Regions from separate parts of the Homo sapiens genome. Here region 2 is linked to region 1. Evidence: promoter capture Hi-C in human tissues and cell types (Jung and others, 2019). All regions are on one chromosome and are shown on one strand. Each heading gives the region's core, a stretch centred on a gene start or on the middle of the fragment in contact. The rest is flanking DNA. Distances are from core to core; before and after follow the strand shown. Region 1 holds the start of TMEM74B (transmembrane protein 74B). Region 2 has its middle 5.5 kb from the start of RAD21L1.

The links. The method cuts DNA at HindIII sites, captures the fragments that hold promoters and counts their contacts. A contact is called where the count stands out against the background at its distance.
Region 2: a fragment that was not itself captured here is called in contact with the fragment with the promoter of TMEM74B in region 1 in 1 of the 25 tissues and cell types used here (heart left ventricle).

What each region holds. Positions count from the first base shown.
Region 1 is chr20:1,181,171-1,186,936 of GRCh38, reverse strand. It overlaps TMEM74B (transmembrane protein 74B), which reads left to right and starts at 1,956. Exons shown (of 3, transcript NM_001304748.2): 1 at 1,956-2,635; 2 at 2,989-3,166; 3 at 5,350-5,766. The coding sequence starts at 3,136. The HindIII fragment of the contact is 7,340 bases long and covers 1-5,653 here.
Region 2 is chr20:1,217,781-1,223,233 of GRCh38, reverse strand. No RefSeq gene overlaps it. Among named protein-coding and RNA genes, the nearest start is that of RAD21L1, 5.5 kb to the left of the region's middle. The HindIII fragment of the contact is 6,646 bases long and covers 1-5,453 here.

The sequences.
Region 1 (5,766 bases), core at 707-3,206:
CTCCAGGAGGGCAGTCCTTTACACCAGGGCACCCAGCTGTGGGGGTGGAGCTGGGATTTGAACAGGAGTGTGGTGCCAGGGCTAGCATCCCTTTGAAGTCTCTAACAACGGGCCAGGCCTCTGCAAGGCTGGGAGGAAATGGAGGCCTTCCCAGCCCTGGTGGACCTGCCTAGGGCTAGGCTATGCTGGCCTTGAAGGCACAGGCATCCATCATCCAGGGTGACTTCCAGTCTCCTGGTTGGGGAGGGCTGCACAGAACTTTGGAGGAGGGCAGGTCAGGCTCCGCTCATGAGGTGGCCGAGGAGCAGGACATGGCACACTCATTCGCCTGTCCTTCCACATGGCCAACTTCTGCTGGCCTTCCCAGAGCCCTCAAAGCCTGCACATTCACAATCCTCATGGACAGAAGTGGATACAGGCTCAGAGGCCAGAGGTACTAACCGAGACCACACGATTCAGCTGGTCACCGTGTCTTCCCGGAACCTGCACGATTCAGACCAAAGCTGTCTCTGGGGTTGGCGTGTGTTCCCCAAAGAGGAAACGTCTCCATGAATTTGGTACTCTAGGCACTTCGCTGGACTCATCTTAACTCCGGCCCTGTAAAGGAAAGAAGTGAAAGTCACCCCTTTTCACAGCCTGTTCACCCACACCCACCTAGGTCTTCTAGGTGATCAGACATGGGTCCTGCTCTCCAGGAGCTGCCAATCCGATGGAGGAGGCTGACCCTTAAACAAAATCACGACCGTCAGAGACAAGAGCAAACAGTGCGGGCAAAAGGAGAGCCCAGATGGAGGGGCCCGTGGGGTAAGTGGGTGTGTGCCCAGGGAGGGGTTCCAGGAGAAGAGGCCCCACAGCTGGGCCTTGGAGGGTGAGGGTGTGTTTGGCCATTGGCAATGCCCCCAGGAGAACACCCCTCTTGGGCGGAGCACTCCACTGTCCCACGGAGAAAAAAATTGCAGAGAAAAGGGGGAGGGGGATCGTCGGATTCTTTCTTGCAGCCTTCAGGTGGCGCCCTTGAGCCACGGAGCCGCAAGCGCCCGAGGAGACCGTCCCGACCTAAGGACCTCGGAGAGGACCCGGGGTCCTACCTGGGGGCTGCGTGCGGGGTGGGGGTGGGGGGAAGGGGAAGTGGCAGAGTGGGGGTGAGGAGTGGGGAGGCACCTGCGCTTGGCGCAATAGGGGCTCTCCGGTGGTGGGGAGGGATCTTCTTCAGCAGCCCCCGCCCGCCCCGCCCCTGCGCCCGTGGACCGCGGGCTCCAAGCCCCAGTTCCCTAAGCCCAGGCGCCGGCGATCCAGATCTGCCTGGAGGGGAGGGGAGGACGGTGGATCGGAGCCCCCGCACCCTCGCCCCAGCCCATCACCCGCCTTCCTGTCCCTCTCCTTGCTAACTCTCCGGGCGCCCTCGCCGGCCGCGGGCGGAGCTCCCTCCGCGGCGCTCGGCGAGCCCCGGCCCCCGCCCCTTCTCCCGTCCCTCCGTCCCCGGATCCCCCCCCCGCCTCCCCAGCGGCCGCCACCGCCGCCGTACAGCTCCGCGCGGCGCGAGTAGGTACGTGCGCCTCGGCAGTGGCTCCGGGCCGGGCCGGGAAGGGGGCGGGAGACCGGGAGGGCGAGGCGGTGGCGGCCGGGCCCGCGCCCTCCGGGCTGCGCCGCAGGAGAGAGACCCCCGCAGGCGAGACCCCCGCAGGCGTACGCCGGCTGCAGGAAGGCGGACGGGCACCGGAGAGGACGCACCCTCGCCCGCCGGCGGCCGGGCGCCCTTCGCCCCAGCGTGGTGAGGCGGGGAGGGAGGCCCGGCACAGGTACGCACGCGGAGAGGGGACCGCTGGGGGCGGCAGGAGGCCGAGGGCCGGGGGCGGGGAGTGGCGGCGAAGGACGGCGAGCCTGACCTCGCGGCCCGCCGAAGGACATGCGACCAGGGGACCCGGCCTCCCCGGGCCTCCGCCTGGTCCGGTTCGGCCTTCCGGGTCCCGCGTCTGTGGGCAAGGGCAGGAGCAGGGGGTGTGGACTGGGCCGGCGGGAGCGGGCGCGGTGGGCAGCCGGCGTGCTGGGGCTTTCTGCGCGCAACTTTGGGTACAACAGCGTGGACCTGCGTGTGCGTATCTGCGCGCCCCAAGGCTTTGTGTACAACTCGTGCGTGTGTCTATCGACTGGGTTTTGTGAAGCTTCACCCACAGCCGCTGTGCGTCCCTCTCTCCGGGTGTCAGTGCGCGCGGCGGGTGGGGTATTGGGCCCCTGCGGGTCTTGGTGGATCTGGCTTGGGTCTCACTCCCAGGGGCACTTTGTGTGTGTGTGTGTGTGTGTGTGTGTGTGTGTGTACGCGCGTGTGCGTGTGACGGGGTACTCGCGTGGCCCGAAGATCCGAGGGTCACACTACGTGACTTCTGGGTGTCTGTGGGTACTGCTGTGGGAACAGCTGCTGGGGGAGTGTGTGTGGAACTGGAGTGTTCCTTTCAGGACCTGTCTGACTGCAGATGAAATTAGTAACTGGTGGGGTCGTGGGGTGTGAATGGTGGGCGGGAGCAGCTATGTCAGTTGGTGTGTTTCTGCTTATGTTAGGGTAATTGGGCACGGCCTTTGTGTAACTGGTGAATATCTCTGAACCTGGGCATGAAACAGAGAGATGTCCTAACTCTGGGTGAGAGGAATCCTCATTTTTCTCTGCCCTCTCACTGTGGCATCCTAAGAAAAAAGTTTTGGGTTCCTGCAGCATGAAGGAGAGCTCTGCTCCCAGAATTTGGGAGCTCCAGATTTCTTCCAGGGTGTGGAGGCATCAATATATCAGTCTGGGAAAGGGGTTCCTGGGCCACTCCAGGAGCTGAGTTGGGTGGAAGGTGCTGAGGGTGTGGGTGGGGGCCACTTCTGAGCACCCATGTGGCACCCACTGCTGGTCCCTGTTTGTGGCTGGGCACTCAGGAAAATGTTTTTGGTGCTAAGAGTAAAAAGCCAACCAACAAACACATCTCTTTTTTCTGTCTATTCACTGGAAAGTAAAAGCAGTCTGGGCGCAGGCTGGGGACCCAGATGGAATTCAAACTTATGCCTGCTCTCAAGGTGCTCACGGTTGCTGATAAACAGCTGGATAAAATGAAGAGTCTATGAGTGAGGGATGCAGAGCCAGGGAAGGCTGGTGGAGTGATGCCACCAGCACAGGGGTATGAGTTTGCAGGTTTGTACATGATAATAATTCTTAGGGAATCTGCATTCAACTCCTGTCCTCCACCCTCCCATACATGCCATGGGATCTTGGCCATGTTTTATGAAATAGAGACAGTAATTCCGGATCGTGGGGCTGGTGAGGGTGATATGAGATACTCCTGCATGAAGTGTCGGGTACATGGCTCAACAGCTAGTAGGTGCTTGGTAAACATTTACTAAATTGAGACTCTGGAAAGAGAGACGTAGTGATAGAAATGGGCTGTAAAGGGAAAAGAGCTTTGTACTCACATGAAAGGCCCTATATGTGCTAAGAGGAGGTGTCTGATGCTAGTCCATATTGACAAGAAGGTCAGAAAGATTGAAAAACATGTCTTCCTGCACTGAGGCTCTTTGAGTTTCATTCATTCATTCATTCCATTCATCCTCACTTCATTTGCTCATATTTACACACACACACACACACAAACACACACACACACACACACACACAGAGAACGAACCACAGTGCACTGGAGAATAAACTCCGGCATGAGAATGCAGAGAATCGTGTGTGTGTGCATGTATGTGTGCGTAGACACACCGGAGCATGTGAGCCACTCTGCACCTGGTGGTCTCTGTAGCCCATGGCTTGTGCGCCTAGGGCTCTGAGTGTATGTGCCCTCAGGCCATCAGTGTATACAAGGAATGATGCAGTTCTGCTGTGGATTAGGAATGACACATGCCAGGCAGGGAAGGGGGCTGAGGTGGGACCTGTCGGGGAGAGGCTAGATCTGCCTAAGAGCCCCGATTGCCAACTCCAGGCGAGTGTTACAAGGGAACGGGGGCCTAAGGTGGCCAGATTCTTTCATTTTGCAGGAGAAGCCAGGAATCCAACATTTAAAATGTAAAATCTAAAATCTTTTGCTTTTTATACATTTGCAACTAATTCACCAAAAACAAATGAACAGGCCAGGAACAAAACAAAGCAAAACTTCTATCAGCCAAATATGGTCCCCGGGCTGTAAGTCAGTATCCTTCAGCGGGAATGCACATGTGCTGTCTGTGTCTGGGTGGGTTTGTGTTCAGGTTCTTGGGTGGGGTAACTCCTCTTGCAGCACAGAGAGTGTCCCTCTTCTCGCCTCTCCCTCCCGGTTCCCCTCCTGTGGTTCTAGTCCAGGTCCCCACACTTCTGTTTACATAAAGGCATTTGGCTTTGACCTAGTCATGGCTCTCCAGTCTGCCCCTTCCTCTTGGCCCTTTTAGCCATGCCATCCCCAACCTGCTGGCTTCCTTGCTGGACCCCCATCCTCCACTTTGCCCCCTCCCATCTCATCAGTCCTCCTTTCTTCTGAAGCCGAGGCACTTCCTGCTCCAGCTCCTCAGCTCTGCATGGCTCTCGGGCTCCTTGGCCTGGCTTTCAGAGTCCTCTGTGAGCCGGCCCCAGCTGGCCTCTGAGGCAGTCTGTTCCCCTTTCCAGAATGCCCTCATCACCTTCCATTGCTGGGAAGTATCCAATTCATCTTCTGAGATCTGGCTCAAATGCCACCAACTCCCAGAAACTTCCCTTCCTCTTTGTTCCCACAACAACTTCTGCATTTCTACCCCCTCCCCCACCCCTCCGTCATCCTTCCCTCATACAACAAGGTCCATGGATTGCACTGGCCAGGGTCTTGCATGCACTATTTTATGAAATCCTCACAACAACCTTATGAGGGAGGCATTTTATTCATTACCATTTTATAGATAAGATGAAGACCGAATCTGGAGAGGTCACATCACTTGCCCAAGCCCAAGTGGTGAAGCTGGGATTTGAGCCTGATATTCACACTACCTACATTCCCTCCAGTATAATAGGAACTCATCGCTAACTTTGAGCACTTAGTGTTCTGAGTACTTCGTATAGGTTATCTCAATCCTACTCCAGCTTTGCGAACTAGAGGGTAGTAGTAGTATTATTTTATAGGTGGGGAAACTGAAGCCAGACAGGATTAGTGAATTGCCCACAGCCATACCCCACCCGGTGGTAGAGTGGGATCTGGGCTTGGATCACACTGTTCTGTCATCGTCTTATTCCCTGTCTTCCCCTCTGTCTGGCAGACACCCCCAAGTGGGAATTGTGCCTGACTCACCTTCATGTGCTTAGGGACTGGTATGATGTCCTCCACAACAGGGAGAGGTTGCTACATTCAACTGACTTTCTTTTTTCTCTTCCAGCTGCCAAGGGGCCAAGGGATGAGCTGGGGCCCTCCTTCCCAATGGCATCTCCCCCTGGTCTGGAACTGAAGACACTGAGCAATGGTCCCCAAGCCCCAAGGAGATCAGCTCCCCTGGGCCCAGTGGCCCCAACCAGGGAGGGTGTGGAGAATGCCTGCTTCTCCTCAGAGGAGCATGAGACCCATTTCCAGAACCCTGGGAACACGAGACTGGGCAGCTCACCCAGTCCCCCTGGGGGTGTCTCCTCACTGCCCCGATCCCAGCGGGATGATCTGTCCCTTCATTCAGAGGAGGGGCCAGCCCTGGAGCCCGTGAGCCGCCCGGTGGATTATGGCTTTGTTTCCGCCCTCGTTTTCCTGGTGAGTGGGATTCTTCTGGTGGTGACAGCATACGCCATCCCCCGTGAGGCTCGAGTCA
Region 2 (5,453 bases), core at 1,275-3,774, 36 kb before region 1:
ATTACAGGCGTGAGCCACCTCGCCCAGCCTACATTAGGTATATCTCCTAATGCTATCCCTCCCCCCTCCCCCCACCCCCCAGCAGGCCCCGGTGTGTGATGTTCCCTACCCTGTGTCCATGTGTTCTCATTGTTCAATTCCCACCTATGAGTGAGAACATGTGGTGTTTGGTTTTCTGTCCTTGCGATAGTTTGCTCAGAATGATGGTTTCCAGCTTCATCCATGTCCCTATAAAGGACATGAACTCTTCCTTTTTATGGCTGCATAGTATTCCATGGTGTATATGTACCACATTTTCTTAATCCAGTCTATCATTGATGGACATTTGGGTTGGTTCCAAGTCTTTGCTATTGTGAATAGTGCCGCAATAAACATATGTGTGCATGTGTCTTTATAGCAGCATGATTTATAATCCTTTGGGTGTATGCCCAGTAATGGTATGGCTCGATCAAATGGTATTTCTAGTTCTAGATCCCTGAGGAATTGCCACACTGTCTTCCACAATGGTTGAACTAGTTTACAGTCCTACCAACGGTGTAAAAGCGTTCCTTTCTCCACATCCTCTCTAGCACCTGTTGTTTTCTGACTTTTTAATGATGGCCATTCTAACTGGTGTGAGATGGTATCTCATTGCGGTTTTGATTTGCATTTCTCTGATGGCCAGTGATGATGAGCATTTTTTCATGTGTCTGTTGGCTGCATAAATGTCTTCTTTTGAGAAGTGTCTGTTCATATCCTTCGCCCACTTTTTGATGGGGTTGTTTGATTTTTTCTTGTAAATTTGTTTAAGTTCTTTGTAGATTCTGGATATTAGCCCTTTGTCAAATGGGTAGATTGTAAAAATTTTTTCTCATTCTGTAGGTTGCCTGTTCACTCTGATGGTAGTTTCTTTTGCTGTGCAGAAGCTCTTTAGTTTAATTAGATCCCATTTGTCAATTTTGGCTTTTGTTGCCATGGCTTTTGGTGTTTTAGTCATGAAGTCCTTGTCCATGCCTATGTCCTGAATGGTATTGCCTAGGTTTTCTTCTAGGGTTTTTATGGTTTTAGGTCTAACATTTAAGTCTTTAATCCATCTTGAACTGATTTTTGTATAAAGTGTAAGGAAGGGATGCAGTTTCAGCTTTCTACATATGGCTAGCCAGTTTTCCCAGCACCATTTATTAAATAGGGAATCCTTTCCTCATTTCTTGTTTTTGTCAGGTTTGTCAAAGATGAGATGGTTGTAGATGTGTGGTATTATTTCTGAGGGCTCTGTTCTGTTCCATTGGTCTATATCTCTGTTTCGGTACCAGTACCATGCTGTTTTGGTTACTGTAGCCTTGTAGTATAGTTTGAAGTTAGGTAGCGTGACGCCTCCAGCTTTGTTCTTTTGGCTTAGGATTGTCTTGGCAATGTGGGCTCTTTTTTGGTTCCATGTGAACTTTAAAGTAGTTTTTTCCAATTCTGTGAAGAAAGTCAGGCTGGGCGCAGTGGCTCACACCTGTAATCCCAGCACTTTGGGAGGCCGAAGCAGGTGGATCACAAGGTCAGGAGATTGAGACCATCCTGGCTAACATGGTGAAACCCCGTCTTTATTAAAAATACAAAAAATTAGCCAGGCGTGGTGGCGGGCGCCTGTAGTCCCAGCTACTCGGGAGGCTGAGGCAGGAGAATGGTGTGAACCCAGGAGGCGGAGCTTGCAGTGAACTGAGATGGCGCCACTGCACTCCAGCCTGGGCAACAGAGCGAGACTCCATCAAAAAAAGAAAAAGAAAGAAAGAAGGAAGGAAGGAAGGAAAGAAAGAAAGAGAAAGAAAAAGAAAGAAAGAAAGAAGAAAGAAAGAAAGAAAGAAAGAAAGAAAGAAAGAAAGAAAGAAAGAAAGAAAGAGAAAGAAAGAAAAAGAAAGAAAGTCATTGGTAGCTTGATGGGGAAGGCATTGAATCTATAAATTACCTTGGGCAGTGTGGCCATTTTCACAATATTGATTCTTCCTATCCATAAGCATGGAATGTTTCATTTGTTTGTGTCCTCTTTTATTTTGCTGAGCAGTGGTTTGTAGTTCTCCTTGAAGAGGTCCTTCACATCCCTTGTAAGTTGGATTCCTAGGTATTTTATTCTCTTTGAAGCAATTGTGAATGGGAGCTCACTCATGATTTGGCTCTCTGTTTGTCTGTTATTGGTGTATAGGAATGTTTGTGATTTTCGCACGTTGATTTTGTATTCTGAGACTTTGCTGAAGTTGCTTATCAGCTTAAGGAGGTTTTGGGCTGAGATGATGGGGTTTTCTAAATATACAATCATGTCATCTGCAAACAGGGACAATTTGACTTCCTCTTTTCCTAATTGAATACCCTTTATTTCTTTCTCTTGCCTGATTGCCCTGGCGAGAACTTCCAACACTATGTTGAATAGGAGTGGTGAGAGAGGGCATCCCTGTCTTGTGCCAGTTTTCAAAGGGAATGCTTCCAGTTTTTGCCCATTCAGTATTATATTGGCTGTGGGTCTGTCATAAATAGTTCTTATTATTTTGAGATATGTCCCATCAATACCTAGTTTATTGAGAGTTTTTAGCATGAAGTGCTATTGAATTTTGTCAAAGGCCTTTTCTGCATCTATTGAGATAATCATGTGGTTTTTGTCTTTTGTTCTGTTTATATGATGGATTACATTTATTGATTTGCATATGTTGAACCAGCCTTGCATCTCCGGGATGAAGCCAACTTGATCATGGTGGATAAGCTTTTTGATGTGCTGCTGGATTCGGTTTGCCAATATTTTATTGAGGATTTTTGCATCGATGTTCATCAGGGATATTAGTCTAAAATTCTCTTTTTTTTGTTGTGTCTCTGCCAGGCTTTGGTATCAGGATGATGTTGACCTCATAAAATGAATTAGGGAGGATTCCCTCTTTTTCTATTGATTGGAATAGTTTCAGAAGGAATGGAACCAGCTCCTCTTTGTACCTCTGGTAGAATTCGGCTGTGAATCTGTCTGGTCCTGGACTTTTTTTGGTTGGTAGGCTATTAATTACTGCCTCAATTTCAGAACCTGTTATTGGTCTATTCAGGGATTCAACTTCTTCCTGGTTTAGTCTTGGGAGGGTGTATGTGTCCAGGAATTTATCCATTTCTTCTAGATTTTCTAGTTTATTTGCATAGAGGTGTTTATAGTATTCTCTGATGGTAGTTTGTATTTCTGTGGGAGTGGTGGTGATATCCCCTTTATCATTTTTAATTGCATCTATTTGATTCTTCTCTCTTTTCTTCTTTATTAGTCTTGCTAGCAGTCTATCAATTTTGTTGATCTTTTAAAAAAACCAGGATTCATTGGTTTTTTGAAGGGTTTTTAGTGTCTCTATCTCCTTCAGTTCTGCTCTGATCTTAGTTATTTCTTGACTTCTGCTAGCTTTTGAATGTGTTTGCTCTTGCTTCTCTAGTTCTTTTAATTGTGATGTTAGGGTGTCAATTTTAGATCTCTCCTGCGTTCTCTTGTGGGCATTTAGTGCTATACATTTCCCTCTACACACTGCTTTAAATGTGTCCCACAGATTCTGGTATGTTGTGTCTTTGTTCTCATTGGTTTCAAAGGACATCTTTATTTCTGCCTTCATTTTGTTATGTACCCAGTAGTCATTCAGGAGCAGGTTGTTCAGTTTCCATGTAGTTGAGCAGTTTTGAGTGAGTTTCTTAATCCTGAGTTCTAGTTTGATTGCCCTGTGGTCTGAGAGACAGTTCGTTATAATTTCTGTTCTTTTACATTTGCTGAGGAGTGCTTTACTTCCAACTATGTGGTCAATTTTGGAATAAGTGTGATGTGGTGCTGAGAAGAATGTATATTCTGTTGTTTTGGGGTGGAGAGTACTGTAGATGTCTATTAGGTCTGCTTGGTGTAGAGCTGAGTTCAATTCCTGGATGTCCTTATTAACTTTCTGTCTCGTTGATCTGTCTAACGTTGACAGTAGGGTGTTAAAGTCTCCCATTATTATTGTGTGGGAGTCTAAGTCTCTTTGTAGGTCTCTCAGGACTAGCTTTATGAATCTGGGTGCTCCTGTATTGGGTGCATATATATTTAGAATAGTTAGCTCTTCTTGTTGAATTGATCCCTTTACCATTATGTAATGGCCTTCTTTGTCTCTTTTGATCTTTGTTGGTTTAAAGTCTGTTTTATCAGAGACTAGGATTGCAGCCTCTGCTTTTTTTTGTTTTCCATTTGCTTGGTAGATCTTCCTCCATCCCTTTATTTTGAGCCTATGTGTGTCTCTGTACGTGAGATGGGTCTCCTGAATACAGCACACTGATGGGTCTTGACTCTTTATCTAATTTGCCAGTCTGCGTCTTTTAATTGGAGCATTTAGCCCATTTACATTTAAGGTTAATATTGTTATGTGTGAATTTGATCCTGTCATTATGATGTTAGCTGGTTATTTTGCTCATTAGTTCATGCAGTTTCTTCCTGGTGTCGATGGTCTTTACAATTTGTCATGTTTTTGCAGTGGCTGGTACCGGTTGTTCCTTTCCATGTTTAGTGCTTCCTTCAGGAGCTCTTGTAAGGCAGGCCTGGTGGTGACAAAATCTCTCAGCATTTGTTTGTCTGTGAAGTATTTTATTTCTCCATCACTTATGAAGCTTAGTTTGGCTGGATATGAAATTCTGGGTTGAAAATTGTTTTCTTTAAGAATGTTGAATATTGGCCTCCACTCTCTTCTGGCTTGTAGAGTTTCTGCTGAGAGATCCGCTGTTAGTCTGATGGGCTTCCCTTTGTGGGTAACCCGACCTTTCTCTCTGGCTGCCCTTAACATTTTTTCCTTCATTTCAACTTTGGTGAATCTGACAATTATGTGTCTTGGAGTTGCTCTTCTCGAGGAGTCTCTTTGTGGCGTTCTCTGTATTTCCTGAATTTGAATGTTGGCCTGCCTTGCTAGGTTGGGGAAGTTCTCCTGGATGATATCCTGAAGAGTGTTTTCCAACTTGGTTCCATTCTCTCCGTCACTTTCAGGTACACCAATCAGATGTAGATTTGGTCTTTTCACGTAGTCCCACATTTCTTGGAGGCTTTGTTCATTTCTTTTTACTCTTTTTTCTCTAAACTTCTCTTCTCGCTTCATTTCATTCATTTGATCTTCAATCACTGATACCCTTTCTTCCATTTGATCAAATCGGCTACTGAAGCTTGTGTATGTGTCACGTAGTTCTCATGCCACAGTTTTCAGCTCCATCAGTTCATTTAAGGACTTCTCTATACTGTTTATTGTAGTTAGCCATTCGTCTACTCTTTTTTCAAGGTTTTTAGCTTCCTTGCAATGGGTTTGAACATCCTCCTTTAGCTTGGAGAAGTTTCTTATTACCGATCATCTGCAGCCTTCTTCTCTTGACTCGTCAAAGTCATTCTCCATCCAGCTTTGTTCCATTGCTGGCGAGGAGCTGTGTTCTTTTGGAGGAGAAGAGGCGCTCTGATTTTTAGAATTTTCAGCTTT